2 separate regions of the Homo sapiens genome follow, and region 1 is linked to region 2. Evidence: promoter capture Hi-C in 16 types of primary human blood cells and fetal thymus (Javierre and others, 2016). All regions are on one chromosome and are shown on one strand. The core of a region is centred on a gene start or on the middle of the fragment in contact, and the rest is flanking DNA. Distances in the headings are between cores, read along the strand shown.

Evidence for each region. Contacts are between HindIII fragments. The CHiCAGO score rates a contact against its expected background, and 5 or more counts as called.
Region 1: a contact is called between the fragment with the promoter of GINS3 here and the fragment with the promoter of TERF2IP in region 2, in 1 of 17 cell types (monocytes). The highest score is 6.2, in monocytes.

What each region holds. Positions count from the first base shown.
Region 1 is chr16:58,390,826-58,397,458 of GRCh38, reverse strand. GINS3 (GINS complex subunit 3) reads right to left here and starts at 4,988. Exons shown (of 3, transcript NM_022770.4): 1 at 4,672-4,988. The coding sequence starts at 4,857. RefSeq lists enhancers at 1,521-2,166, 4,195-4,771, 4,676-5,165, 4,772-5,349. The HindIII fragment of the contact is 2,062 bases long and covers 4,159-6,220 here.
Region 2 is chr16:75,645,914-75,653,204 of GRCh38, reverse strand. It overlaps TERF2IP (TERF2 interacting protein), which reads right to left and starts at 5,432. Exons shown (of 3, transcript NM_018975.4): 1 at 4,653-5,432. The coding sequence starts at 5,322. It overlaps KARS1 (lysyl-tRNA synthetase 1), which reads left to right and starts at 5,540. Exons shown (of 14, transcript NM_005548.3): 1 at 5,540-5,627. The coding sequence starts at 5,566. RefSeq lists enhancers at 2,897-2,976, 3,555-4,510, 4,308-4,577, 4,511-5,468, 5,508-5,687 and a silencer at 4,888-5,007. The HindIII fragment of the contact is 3,802 bases long and covers 3,925-7,291 here.

The DNA of each region.
Region 1 (6,633 bases), core at 3,739-6,238, about 17 Mb after region 2:
GCTGCCTGCCTTGGCCCCCCAAAGTGCCGAGATTGCAGCCTCTGCCCGGCTGCCACCCCGTCTGGGAAGTGAGGAGCCTCTCTGCCTGGCTGCCCAGTCTGGAAAGTGAGGAGCGTCTCTGCCCGGCCGCCATCCCATCTAGGAAGTGAGGAGCGTCTCTGCCCGGCCGCCCATCGTCTGAGATGTGGGGAGTGCCTCTGCCCTGCTGCCCCGTCTGGGATGTGAGGAGCATCTCTGCCCGGCCGCCCCGTCTGAGAAGTGAGGAGACCCTCTGCCTGGCAACCACCCCGTCTGAGAAGTGAGGAGCCCCTCCGCCCGGCAGCTACACCGTCTGGGAAGTGAGGAGCGTCTCCGCCCGGCAGCCACCCCATCCAGGAGGGAGGTGGGGGTCAGCCCCCCGCCCGGCCAGCCGCCCTGTCCGGAAGGGAGGTGGGGGGGTCAGCCCCCCGCCCAGCCAGCCGCCCTCTCCTGGAGGTGAGGGGCGCCTCTGCCCGGCCACCCCTACTGGGATGTGAGGAGCACCTCTGCCCGGCCAGCCGCCCCGTCCGGGAAGGAGGTGGGGGGGTCAGCCCCCCGCCCGGCCAGCCGCCCCGTCCGGGAGGTGAGGGGCGCCTCTGCCCGGCCGCCCCTACTGGGAAGTGAGGAGCCCCTCTGCCCGGCCAGCCGCCCTGTCCGGGAAGGAGGTGGGGGGGTCAGCCCCCCGCCCGGCCAGCCGCCCCGTCCGGGAGGGAGGTGGGGAGGTCAGCCCCCCGCCCGGCCAGCCGCCCCGTCCGGGAGGGAGGTCGGGGGGTCAGCCCACCGCCCGGCCAGCCGCCCCGTCCGGGAAGGGAGGTGGGGGGATCAGCCCCCCGCCCGGCCAGCCGCCCCGTCCGGGAGGGAGGTGGGGGGGATCAGCCCCCGCCCGACCAGCCGCCCCGTCCGGGAGGGAGGTGGGGGGGTCAGCCCCCGCCCGGCCAGCCTCCCCGTCCGGGAGGTGAGGGGCGCCTCTGCCCGGCCGCCCCTACTGGGAAGTGAGGAGCCCCTCTGCCCAGCCAGCCGCCCCGTCCGGGAGGGAGGTGGGGGGGTCAGCCCCCTGCCCGGCCAGCCGCCCCATCCGGGAGGTGAGGGGCGCCTCTGCCCGGCCGCCCCTACTGGTAAGTGAGGAGCCCCTCTGCCCGGCCAGCCGCCCCGTCCGGGAGGGAGGTGGGGGAGTCAGCCCCCCACCCGGCCAGCCGCCCCGTCTGGGAGGTGAGGGGCGCCTCTGCCCGGCCGCCCCTACTGGTAAGTGAGGAGCCCCTCTGCCCGGCCAGCCGCCCCGTCCAAGAGGGAGGTGGGGGGGTCAGCCCCCCACCCAGCCAGCCGCCCCGTCCGGGAGGGAGGTGGGGGAGTCAGCCCCCCGCCCGGCCAGCCGCCCCGTCCGGGAGGTGAGGGGCGCCTCTGCCCGGCCGCCCCTACTGGAAAGTGAGGAGCCCCTCTGCCCAGCCAGCCGCCCTGTCCGGGAGGGAGGTGGGGGGGCCAGCCCCCCGCCCAGCCAGCCGCCCCGTCCGGGAGGTGAGGGGCACCTCTGCCCGGCCGCCCCTACTGGGAAGTGAGGAGCCCCTCTGCCCGGCCACCACCCCGTCTGGGAGGTGTACTCAACAGCTCATTGAGAACGGGCCAGGATGACAATGGCGGCTTTGTGGAATAGAAAGGGGGGAAAGGTGGGGAAAAGATTGAGAAATCGGATGGTTGCTGTGTCTGTGTAGAAACAAGTAGACGTGGGAGACTTTTCATTTTGTTCTGTACTAAGAAAAATTCTTCTGCCTTGGGATCCTGTTGATCTGTGACCTTACCCCCAACCCTGTGCTCTCTGAAACATATGCTGTGTCCACTCAGGGGTTGAATGGATTAAGGGTGGTGCAAGATGTGCTTTGTTAAACAGATGCTTGAAGGCAGCATGCTCGTTAAGAGTCATCACCACTCCCTAATCTCAAGTACCCAGGGACACAAACACTGCGGAAGGCCGCAGGGTCCTCTGCCTAGGAAAACCAGAGACCTTTGTTCACTTGTTTATCTGCTTGACCTTCCCTCCACTATTGTCCTGTGACCCTGCCAAATCCCCCTTTGCGAGAAACACCCAAGAATGATCAATTAAAAAAAAAATATATATATATATATACAAATATTACAGAAGAATTTCAAATGTACAAATAGAAAAAAAAAAAAAAGAAAATTTAGACAAAAAAAAAATACAAAAATTAGCTGGACATGGTGGCATGTACCTGCAATACCAGCCACATAGGTGGCTGAGGTGGGAGGATCTCTGGAGCCTGGGAGGTCAAGGCTGCAGTGAGCCATATCACACCACTGCACTCCAGCCTGGGCAACAGAGCAAAACCCTGTCTCAAAAAAAAAAAAAAAAAATTAGATAAAATGGTCAAAGTTTTAGTTAAAAACCAAATATACCAAAACTAACACAAGAAGAAATCAAGTCTGAATAATCCTATAAATGAAATTAAATGTCATACAAACCTTCCTACACAAATCTCCCATGCAGAAGGATTCTAAAGATTTAATGTAGACACTCTGCACTCAAAGAAGTGGAACATAACTCCCTACTCCTTCAGTGTGACAGTGATAATGACTTCCATCCAAAGAGTACAGTATGAAAAGGTGGAGAAACCTAATGAACATTACCTCTGCCAAGGTTCAAATGAACAGTACAAAGTCCTGTTGATAGTAGGCACCCTTAATATGTGATGAAAATGGCACTTTACCTCTGTGGTCTTCCTCCCTAAAGCTGATAATCAAGTCTAATGCTGAGAAAAAAAGAATAAAAAACAAAAACAAAGAAGGCTGGGCGAGGTGGCTTACGCCTGTAATCCCAGTACTTTGGGAGGCTGAGTTGGGTGGATCACTTGAAGTCAGGAGTTCCAGACCAGCCTGGCCAACCTGGTGAAACCTCATCTCTACTAAAAATACAAAAATTGGCTGGGTGTGGTGGTGGGCGCCTGTAATCTCAGCTACTTGGGAGGCTGAGGCAGAATTGCTTGAACCCAGGAGGTGGAGGAGGCTGCAGTGAGCTGAGATTATGCCACTGCACTCTGGCCTAGATGACAGGGTAACTCCGTGTCAAAAAAACAAACAAAAAAACAAAACCAAAAACAAAACTACCCCCAAACCAAAGATTTCCAACTGAGGAACATTTTACAAAATACCTGACCACCACTCCACAAAACCGTCGAGGTCATTAGAACAAGGAGGTCTGATTAATTGTCACAACCAAGAGAAGGCTAAGGAAACATGTCTACTAAATGCAGTGTGGTATCCTAGGTGGAATCCTAGAATAGAAAAAGGGCATTAACTAAAAACTAAGGAAATATGAATTAAGTATGGGCAGCATAGCGCCATGTTTACCAGTGTGTATGGGAACGAAATCCTCATCTGCTAGGATGAAGTCAACAGATAATGTCTACATTAAAAAAAACAACCCAACAAGGTAAGTTTAAGAATATTATTTAGAAATATGAAGATGAATCTTGAAGACACCACTAAAAAAGGTACATGAGCCCTGTGGACTTGGAGGGGGAAGTGGGAAAAGGAAGGCAGGACCTGCTATTTTTTTTCTTATAAATCTTTTGGTACTATTTGACTTTTTTTTTTTTTTTTTTTGAGATGGAGTCTCACTCTGTCGCCAGGCTGGAGTGCAGTGGCACAGTCTCGGCTCACTGCAACCTCTGCCTCCTGGGTTCAAGAAATTCTCCTGCCTCAGCCTCCAGAGTAGCTGAGATTACAGGCGCCGGCCACCACACCCAGCTTTCTAGTAGAGATGGGGTTTCACCATGTTGGCCAGGATGGTCTGGATCTCTTGACCTCGTGATCCGCCCGCCTCAGCCTCCCAAAGTGCTGGGATTACAGGCGTGAGCCACCGCATCCGGCCTATTTGACTTTTAAAACGTTGGTTATGTATTACTTTGATAAAAATTAACTTGAAACAAACAGACCAAACAATAAACATCGTTCTATACAAAACTTAGGTGAAACAGGATATCCAAATTAATCATTACAAGCCATGTTCCTGGGACAATTTTATATTTGAAGCCATATGGCCTTGGGTTCCGAATCCCAGCTCACCACTAACTGAAGCCCTGGCCAAGTGACCCAGCCTTTCTGGTTGCTGAAGGATTAAAGGGAAAAGCTTACTCCCCACACCCAACCATGCTGCCACTAAGTAAGCCTCAGTAGGGCTTACTGATCCTGTCATCATTATGGAGGAATGAATTTAGCAACTTGGGGTTCCTACTTATCACATGCTCTTACAGAACCCAAAGCTGTTTTAAGGCAAACATGATCAGAACTCTAATTCTTAAGTATTCAGCTGGAGCCAATCTTTAAGCATTCAACACACGTTGCATGGGGTAGGGGGAAGACACTAATTTGGACAGTTTCAAAAAAGAAATCAATGTTGGAGGCTGCCTGGCGACCTAGGATAAATGTAGTTTCACCACAGATGGCGAACAAGAAGTCTGGAGACCACCCCGAGCGCGAAGGGACCCCCGCGGAGTTTCCGAGAAGTCGTTAGCGCCTTCGGCCCTGGCTCCTCGAAAACTACAAATCCCAAAGGGCAGCGCGCCCCGATGCGGCGTCCCAGGGCCGAGGGGCCCGCCGGGAGCTGCAGTCTTTCCGGGCAGGACCCCGCACCCAAAGGCTCACCTGTGGGACCGCGTTGTCAGTCTCGGCGCCTGCGCTCCGCTCCAGGAAGAAAGCGCCAAGGCGAGGCATGGCGGTCTCCGTGCGCACCGGCAGCTTCTCGTGGGACATCAGGATGTCGTCCAAAGAAAGAAAGTTCTCCTCAGGCCCCAGCGCACCCGACTCCACTCGGAAATAAGCCTCTGACATGGCGGCCACTTGAGCTTCTCCGCTTCCACTCGCGTGATTCGGAGGAGCCTCAGGAGTTAGGGGTGTACAAGACGGGGAAGCGGAGACTGGGCAGGATGGTTGGGGTCAGGAAAGTGGATTGAAACTCGTTTCCCGCGCCCGGGGACGCATCAGACAGGAGCAGTCAATTCGGGCGGTACCGCCCAGGCAGAAGCAATCGATCAAGTCTGCAGATTTAGAGCAGCGGGACACGGCTGGGGAGCGGTAGGTGGGGGCGCCGGAAGTTCTCTTCCCTCCGCTTGCTGCACGGTGTGGGAACGTTACGAAGAAGCTGGAACGCTCGTTGAAGCTCCTGGACCCATTTGTACTGGATTGTGTTCATGTGATCCTTAACTATTTATATGAAATTAAAAACACTTTGCAACACTTTTAGGGGTTTAAAATAAAAGCATCTTGTGCCCTTCACTCCAGGCCTAAGTCCGACCCTTTCCTACAGTTTTTTTCACTATGCAACTCCGTTAATCTTAGTATTTGAAAGAAATGTTAAACAAACAAAAACTTCCAGCACTATCCCCAGCGAGTTATTATGGTCTAGATGATGAACTAGTGTGTTGTATTTTGTTAGTATTTTGGTGGGGGTTGGACGGGGTGGGTAGAGGGGTGGAGCACTAGACTGCACATGGCTTGCTAAGGTTGTGAGTATACTTCAGGGTGTCTTAGCTCATCATCAACTGACAATCTCCTTTTGTGGCTCTGAATTTAAATCCCTAAAAATGGAAATCCAATTGGTCCAGTTTATTGATTGGTCCAGGTACGCCACAATGGTCATAGATCTCCAGCCACCCTGTAGATGGGGGTGCCTGTGTTGGGTGCGATCACTATCCAGTGACCAGGGGAAGGACCATGGTCGCATAGTACCAGGTTTGGTGGCTCTCCTCAGCCAGGGCTATGGGTGGCGGCATATTGTTGAGAGATGCACTACAGAACTTACTTCGTCTAGAGCATTTCTGGGGCTACTGGAGCCGGGAGTAAAGGGTGTGTGTGAAGGGAGGTGTGTATTAACCATGGATTTTAGTTTCTGTTTTCTGTATTTTATGATGCTTTGACATCTTGGGGCCTTGGGGACCTGGGGAGGAATTGCCCCTTTCAGAGTTAGCTAATTCCTAGAGATAGCAAACAACTTGCTTGTGAACACCCCTTTCATTTACAAACCAACCAACCCAAGCCTATATCCCCACACCATCTTTATCCATCTCACACACCAATATTTTCCCTGCCCCAAGTCACTGTAATAAACCACCCCATGGCCAAGTACCAGACAACTAAAATTCACCTCTATATCCCAGAGCTTGCCAACATTATTCAAATTATTCAATCCTAAGCTTGTTCAGACTTCCCTTCCCTGCTTCGCCCATTCCTTCCCACGGCAATAAAGGCTCTGGGCTTTCTCCTCGCTCTCTCTACCTCCTCATTGACCCTAATACTTTCTCGTGTGGCCGTAGGCACAGCCCCTTCTCTTGAGAACTATAATAAAATTTTCAAAGGCATTGGCCACTAACTCATTGATTGTCATCACCCAGTCACCTTTATAAATGAAATTCTGAGGACAATGAAAACAAGGTGCAGTGGGGTGGAAAGGAATGGCCAAACTGTGGAAAATCTTGGTACCATTCTAAGGAGTTAGGCCATTCCATAGAAAATGGGAGGAAAATGTAAGGCAAATAATAACATAAATCTGGGCTTCAGGAAGAGAATTCCAGCAGTAGATAAAGAAGAGAGAGATTAGATGCTTGGAAG
Region 2 (7,291 bases), core at 4,183-6,682:
CAAAATAAACAAAAGATGGAAATAAGCCAAATGTCAATTGATACATTAATGGAAAAACAAAATGTAGTATATACATACAATGGAATATTATTCACCTTTAAAAAGGAATCAAATTCTGACACATGCTACAATATGGATGAACTTTGAAGATATTATGTAAAGTGAAATAAGCCAGACACAAAAGGGCAAATATTACATGATTCTACTTGTATGAGGTATCTAGAAATATTGAATTCATAGAAACAGAAGGCGGAATGGTTGTTTCCAGGGGCTAAGAGGAGGGAGAAATGGGGAATTAGTGTTTAATAGGCATGTTTCTGACCCCTAGAAGCAGAAAATAATAAAAGGCATGGAGTTTCAGTTTTAGAAAATGAGTAAGTTCTAGATACAGATGGTGGTGACAGTTGCCCAACAATGTGAATGCACTTAATAATGCCACTGAACAGAACACTTAAAAAACTATCTGAACTGTAAATTTTACGGTATATACATTTTACCACAATAAAAAATAAAGTTTTTAAAATGCATATAATTTTACACCATAAAAAGTTAATTTTACTGTATGTATTTAATAAAATTCTTAAATAGTAACTAAAAGAGGCTTATCTTTGAGAGATACATGCTAAAATAGATAAAATGATATGATGTCTGGCATTTGCTTCAAAACAGTCCAGGAAGTTGGGATGAAAAGTATAGATTTAAAAAATGCCATGAACTAAAATCAGGTGAAGGTGGGTGATGGGTATATGCAGTATAGTTCATTATACTATTCTGTATTTGTAAATGCTTGGAATTCTCCATAATAAAAAGTAAATTACTGTTCATTCACATAATGAAATACAGTGCAATCAATTAGAAAAGAATGAGGAAAAGCTTTGTGCAGACACACAAACACTTCAAGATAAATAATTAAGTTTAAAAAAAGTAAACCACAGATTAAGTTGATGTCTAGTGTGCTAGTATTACTATGAGCAAAGGGGACATGCAACAGACAAGAGACGGTAATAGAGGCTGCCCCTAGGAAAGGACCCAGGGAAAAGGGTATGTAAATAGGGAGACTGCCTTTTCAGTATGTACCCATTTGTACTCTGAGTATATCTACGGGATAAATTCCTAGAACAAAACTGCCATGTTTAAGGGAATATACGTTATAAATGTCATCAGATATTGTCAAAATGCCCCCCAAAGAAATTGTATCAATTTCTATTAACAACGTAGGAGTATACTTGTTTTCCCATACACTAACTTTGGATATTACCCATTGTATTGACTTTTGCCAATCTTATAGATAAAGTATAACATCTCCTTGCTCTGATTTAGTTAAAAAAAATAAATAACTTGGGGAGCTTTTGTTCTATTTTGTATAATGGAAGCTATCTCAATTCATCAAATAAATACAAAACAATTCCAACACACATATTTATTATCTCACAGGTCTCATGGGTCAAAGTATAGCTTATACTGACCCTAGGCTCAGGGTCTGATTTACTTTCTTTCTTCTTCTTTTTTTCTTTCCGAGATGGAGTCTGGTTCTGTCACCCAGGCTGGAGTGCAGGGGCTTGATCTCAGCTCATTGCAACCTACACCTCCCTGGTTCAAGCAATTTTCATGCCTCAGCTGCCTGAGTAGCTGCGATTACAGGCGCATGCCACCATGCCTGGATAGTTTTTGTAGTTTTTAGTAGAGACGGAGTTTCATCATGTTGGCCAGGCTGGTCTCGAACTCCTGACCTCAAGTGGTCTGCCACCTTGGCCTCCCAAAGTGCTAGGATTACAGGCATGAGCCACCGCACTCGGTCTGATTTACTTTCATTTAATAACAGACTATTTCTTCATTTGTTTATCGGCCGCTTATTTATTTCCTTTTCTGGGAACTTCCTGTTCCATTTCCTTTTCTCATTTTTCTATTAGTTTTCTTTTTACTTAATGACTTCTTACTTAATGACAAAGAGCTCTTTAGACATTAAAGAAACTAAGTCTATTGCAGTGTATTGGGAATGTTTTTCCAGCATGCCCTCTGACTTTATTTATCATGAGAAGTTCTTAATTTTCAGGTAATCAAATATATAAAACTTTTTCTTTGTCTTTTTGGCTTCATAACTTATCACCATGCTAATATTTTTACTTTTTTTCTTCTGGCAAATCAGGCAGCATCCTGAACCACAAATGGTTCAGAGCAACTCCCACCATACTGATATATTCATTCATATCTTCTCTTACTCATTTTAGAATTTTTTAATTTTTACATTTAAATATCTGATTATCAAAAGATTACTTAGATGGGTAGGATGAATACAGCTTAATTTTGTCCCAAGTTCCAAATGGCTTGCCAATAGCCCCAACATCACGGATTTAAAAGCAAGTCCCAGACACAGCATGGTGGCTCACACCTGGAATCCTAGCACTTTTGGGAGGCCAAGTCGGGCAGATCCCTTGAGCCCAGGAGTTCGAGACCAGCCTGGGCAACACGGCCAAATCCTGTCTCTACAAAAAAATACAAAAATTAGCTAGGTATGGTGACGAGTGCCTGTAGTCCCAGCTACTTGGAAAGCTGAGGTGGGAGGATCCACTGAGCCTGGGAAGTCAAGGCTGCAGTGAGCCGTGATCGCACTACCGCACTCCAGCCTGTGTGACAGAGCAAGACCCCATCTCAAGATATATAATAAAATTAAAATAAAATAAAAATAAAAGCAAGGCCATACATGATGACATACTTCACCCATACACATAGCCCTAACCTCATCTGCTATAATTAATTCTCCCTCCTACTCCATTAACAGCCACTCTGTTCTCTTTGTGGCTCCAAACACACCAGCCATACTCCCACCTAAGGGCGATTGCCCTGGCTTCTTCCTCTGCCTGAACACTCTTCCCCAGATATCCACCTGGGTTGCTCTTTCACTTCCTTCGGTCTCTGCTTAAACATCAGCTTATGAGAATGACCTTCTCTTATCATCCTATAGGAAAAACCTCCTCCCCAACCCTTACACTCTGAATTATTTTTCTCTATAGCCCTTACCACTCCCCAGCTAGCATGTTATAAGCTCCAGGACCACAGGGACTTTTATTTATTGTTATATTCCAGCAGGACCACAATGTCTGGCACTCAAATTTCTGCTGAATGAATGAAGCTGAAATGTCACTTTTACCAAAACAAAATTCCTACTAAGCATACTGAACAGGAGAAAAAGATTTTACTCCCCAGACTTCAAGTGTTAAATGGAGTAGTCATACAGGCAAAGAAAAGGTGGGAGGATTACGGAGGGGGAGGAGAAGCAGCATGCCTCTTTAAACAAAAGGGTCTATCGGTTTAAGTTATCAATGCCAGGTACGTCACCAAGTACATCTTAACAGACTCGTTCTGTATCCTAGACATACTGAACCCCAATTTTCAATTCAACTGCATTAAAAACTCACTTCACCTAAGCAAGACCAGGAAGAGACCTTCCAACTGCCGAGAACCTTCTTAAGTCCATAGGCATTCAGTTACGCCAGAGCATTAAAGTAAGTCTGGTACGCCTTTATACTGAATCTACCTGAACATAACAGCAATCTTTTTTAAAAAGGAGTCTGTGGAATATCTCTTAAAAGAAACACAAGAAGCCAGTTAGCCCGTGGGTAGCTGGTGGACAGGAAGGACGAGATAATTTTTTTTTTTTTTTGAGATGGAGTCTTGCTCTGTCACCCACGCTGGAGAGCAGTGGCGCAGTCTCGGCTCACTGCAACCTCCGCCCCCCGGGTTCAAGCAATTCTCCTGCCTCAGCCTCCTGAGTAGCTGGGACTACAGGAACTCTCCGCCACGGCCGGCTAATTTTTGTATTTTTAGTAGGGGCGGCATTTCGCCATGTTGGTCAGGCTCGTCTCGATCTCCTTACCTCAGGTGATCCGCCCGCCTCGGCCTCCCAAAGTGCTGGGATTACAAGCTTGAGCCGCCGCGCCCGGCCAAGAGAGAATTTTCTATATACTTTTTGTAACTTTTGAATATAGAACCATGTCAATATTCTAGTCAATGGTAAAGTAAATTAAAACTAGACCAAGAAGCTGGGTGTGATGGCTCACGCCTGTAATCCCAACACTTTGGGACACCGAGACGGGAGGATCGCTTGAGCCCAAGAGTTCGAGACCTGTCAGGGCAACACAACGAGACCCCCATCTCTACAACAATTTTTTTTTTAATTTAGCGGGACGTGGTGGCGCGGGAGTGTAGTTCCAGCTACTTGGGAGGCTGAAGCCGGAGATTCGCTTGAGCCCAGGAGGTCCAGGATGCAGTAGGTCGTGATCGCGCGGCTGCATCACAGCCTGGGCGACGGAGCGAGCCCCCACTCAAAAATTAAAAAATAAAAACGACGAGAGGCCAGACGTGGTGGCTCACTCCTGTAATCCCAACACTTTGGGTGGCCGAGGCAGGAGGATCGCTTGAGCTCAGGAGTTCAGACCAGCTTAGGTAACAGAGACCCATCGCAAAAAAAGAACAATAATAAACAACAAGGGAGCGAGAAGGCAAGAAAATGGTGCAAATTTACCCGGATGTCAACAGGGGGCGGGGCCAAGCGCTGCTACCGAAGATGCCAAGATGGACGCCAGGCAGCCAGGAGAAAGATCCCAACCCCACCCGCGCAGATATCCGCGAGGCCCCGCGCTCAGCCTCCTCACCCCCGCTATCCGCGGCCTCCGGGTCCTCCTCCGCCTTCCGCTTGAGCTTCTGGGAGGAGGGGCTCACCGGCGCGTCCCCCAGCAGGTACTTATGCTCCTGGCCCCGCAGGTGCTTGAGGTAGCGGTCCTTCAGGGACTGCCACGAGTGCTGCGTGAGCGAGCTCTTCTCCATCGCTTTCCACAAGGCGTTACCGGTGACGGAGCTGGGCGAGCGGGCATTTTCCTTCACGTAGGTAAGGATGGCTACGTCGTCCGCATCCGTGAAGGCGATCCGCCCGGCGTGCCGCTGCGGCTCCGGCTCCGCGGCGCCCTCGGCCAGGGCCCCGGGCTTTGCTTCCGAGCCGGTGTCCGCCGCCGAGGCGGGGCCCAGCCGATAGGCCTCCAGCTCCAGCCTCTCGTTGCGCTCCACGCAGTCCAGGATGTACTGCGTGGAGATGAAATCACCCGAGGCCTCGGCCAGCGCCTCCCCGGGCTGGGCCAGCAGCACGGCCCCGGGCTCCTGCACTCGGCACACGGTGCCGCCGCCGTGCAGGATGAGCGTCGACAGCCGACGCTTGGCCGGGCTGGGCCGCACGTAGAAGGACATGGAGCTGCCGTCGTCCCTCACGAACAGAGTCGAGGAATGGGTGGGCCCGTTGGGGTCTTTGCCCAAATCCATCGCCTCCGCCATGTCTGACGCCGAGCACTACTAGAAGAGCTACCCCCTCGCGAGCGCCTGGCACACAGAGCTCAACTGACTGAGCTGTCACCGCAGACGCCTCTGCCGCGAAGCGCAGCACTGGGCCTGCGCAGCAGCAGCCGCGGCGCATCGAGAGTGCCCGCCCCCTCTCCCCCGGAAGAGGTGGGGCTTCGCACCTTGACCTGGAAATTAACGTACTATCCTCCTTACTTTTGGGTCGGGCCCTCCGGGAAGATGGCGGCCGTGCAGGCGGCCGAGGTGAAAGTGGATGGCAGCGAGCCGAAACTGAGCAAGAAGTGAGTGTCGCTGCGAGTCTTTAAAGCCTTTGCGGTAGGAGAGTCTGGGCTGGGAAGCGCCGCGAGGTTCCCACCAAGGCTGCTGTGCCGGGGCCTTCTTGCCGGCTCTCGTGGGTACGCACATGCTGAGACGTGGTGGCTGCGCCCTGCAGACCACGTACCCCGGGATACCCCGGGCACGCCGGCTCCCCGTTCCCAGCTGGCACCGGCGGGATGCTCCCTATCATACTCCTAGAGTTAAGAGACTGTGGAGGAGGAACTAGGACGAGAACTAAGAGTTATCAGAAAAGAAAAGCGAAACTTCCTGCTTAGCTTCATCCTCCTTTCTGAGAAATGCATTCTTTTGTTGAGCCACTCAGTAAACGTGGAAGTTGGAGAAATGTTAAATACCCTAGCTTTTCAGAAAGACCTTCAAAATTTTCTGGGCCTCACTAAGGTCATTCTGAACGTTATGTATTAAAAGGGATCAGTTCTAAAACTGTCATGCATCTACCCGTATGGGTTATTCAGTAGATACCTGTGAGTATTAAGTGATCAACGTCTAACAGTAGAGACCATCTTAATTCAGCCTGATATCTTTGTTAACCACTCCCAAATCCCTGGAGTATGTAGGTTAACATAGATAAGTCAGGATTAGCCACCCTTTAACTGGCTGTCTTATATTCTCATTAGCGTTCCCCATTTGAACCACAGAACACAGGTAATTGAGTGTTTTATCATTGCTAGGAAGATGGTACATAGTACCATTCCAGAGGCATACGAGAGGGCTTAATCCCCGTGGCGCGCACTTGTTATCCCAGCTACTCGGGAGACTGAGGCAGGAGAATCGCTTTAACCCAGGAGGCGGAGGTTGCAGTGTGCTGAAGTCGTGCCACTGCACTCCAGCCTGGGAGACTTGAGGTAGTGGTCCTTCAGGGACTGCCAGAAGTGCTGCGTGAGCGAGCCCTTCTCCATCGCTTTCCCCAAGGAGTTACTGAGACGGAGCCAGACCCTGAATGAAAAAGAAAAGAGAAATGATGTTTCTTTTTTTTTTTTTTTAAGATGGAGTCTCGCTCTGTCGCCAGGCTGGAGTGCAGTGGCGCGATCTCAGCTCACTGCAACCTTCGCTGCCAGGGTTCAAGCGATTCTCCTGCCTCAGCCTCCCGAGTAGCTGGGATTACAGGCGTGTGCCACCATGGCTGGCCAATTTTTGTATTTTTAGTAGAGACAGGGTTTCACCATGTTGGGCAGGATGGTCTCAATCTCGTTACCTTGTGATCCGCCCACCTTGGCCTCCCAAAGTGCTGGGATGACAGGCGTGAGCCTGAGCCACCACCCCTGGCCTGATGTTTCCTTTTGTGTCCCTGGCTTTGTGCTTCAAATATCTTAGAAAAAGTATAAGAGAAATTGTCGAAGTTTATAGTTGGGTAGGACCTTAATATATTGTCCTTTATTAGAGCAATCCGATGGACTTCCATAAAAGTTTGGAACCTGGTCTTTGGACTGCTACCTTAGAGAAAATTGACTTGACTTTATTAAGTCAAATTTAATTGAATGTGGTATATCTGTGATATACGATCCTAAAGTTTAGTTCATTCTTTCAAACCACCTATGATAATCAATTACATTGAATTGAACTTTAGGACTGTATATCACAGGTGAAAGCACGGTTTCCAGTTCAGAGT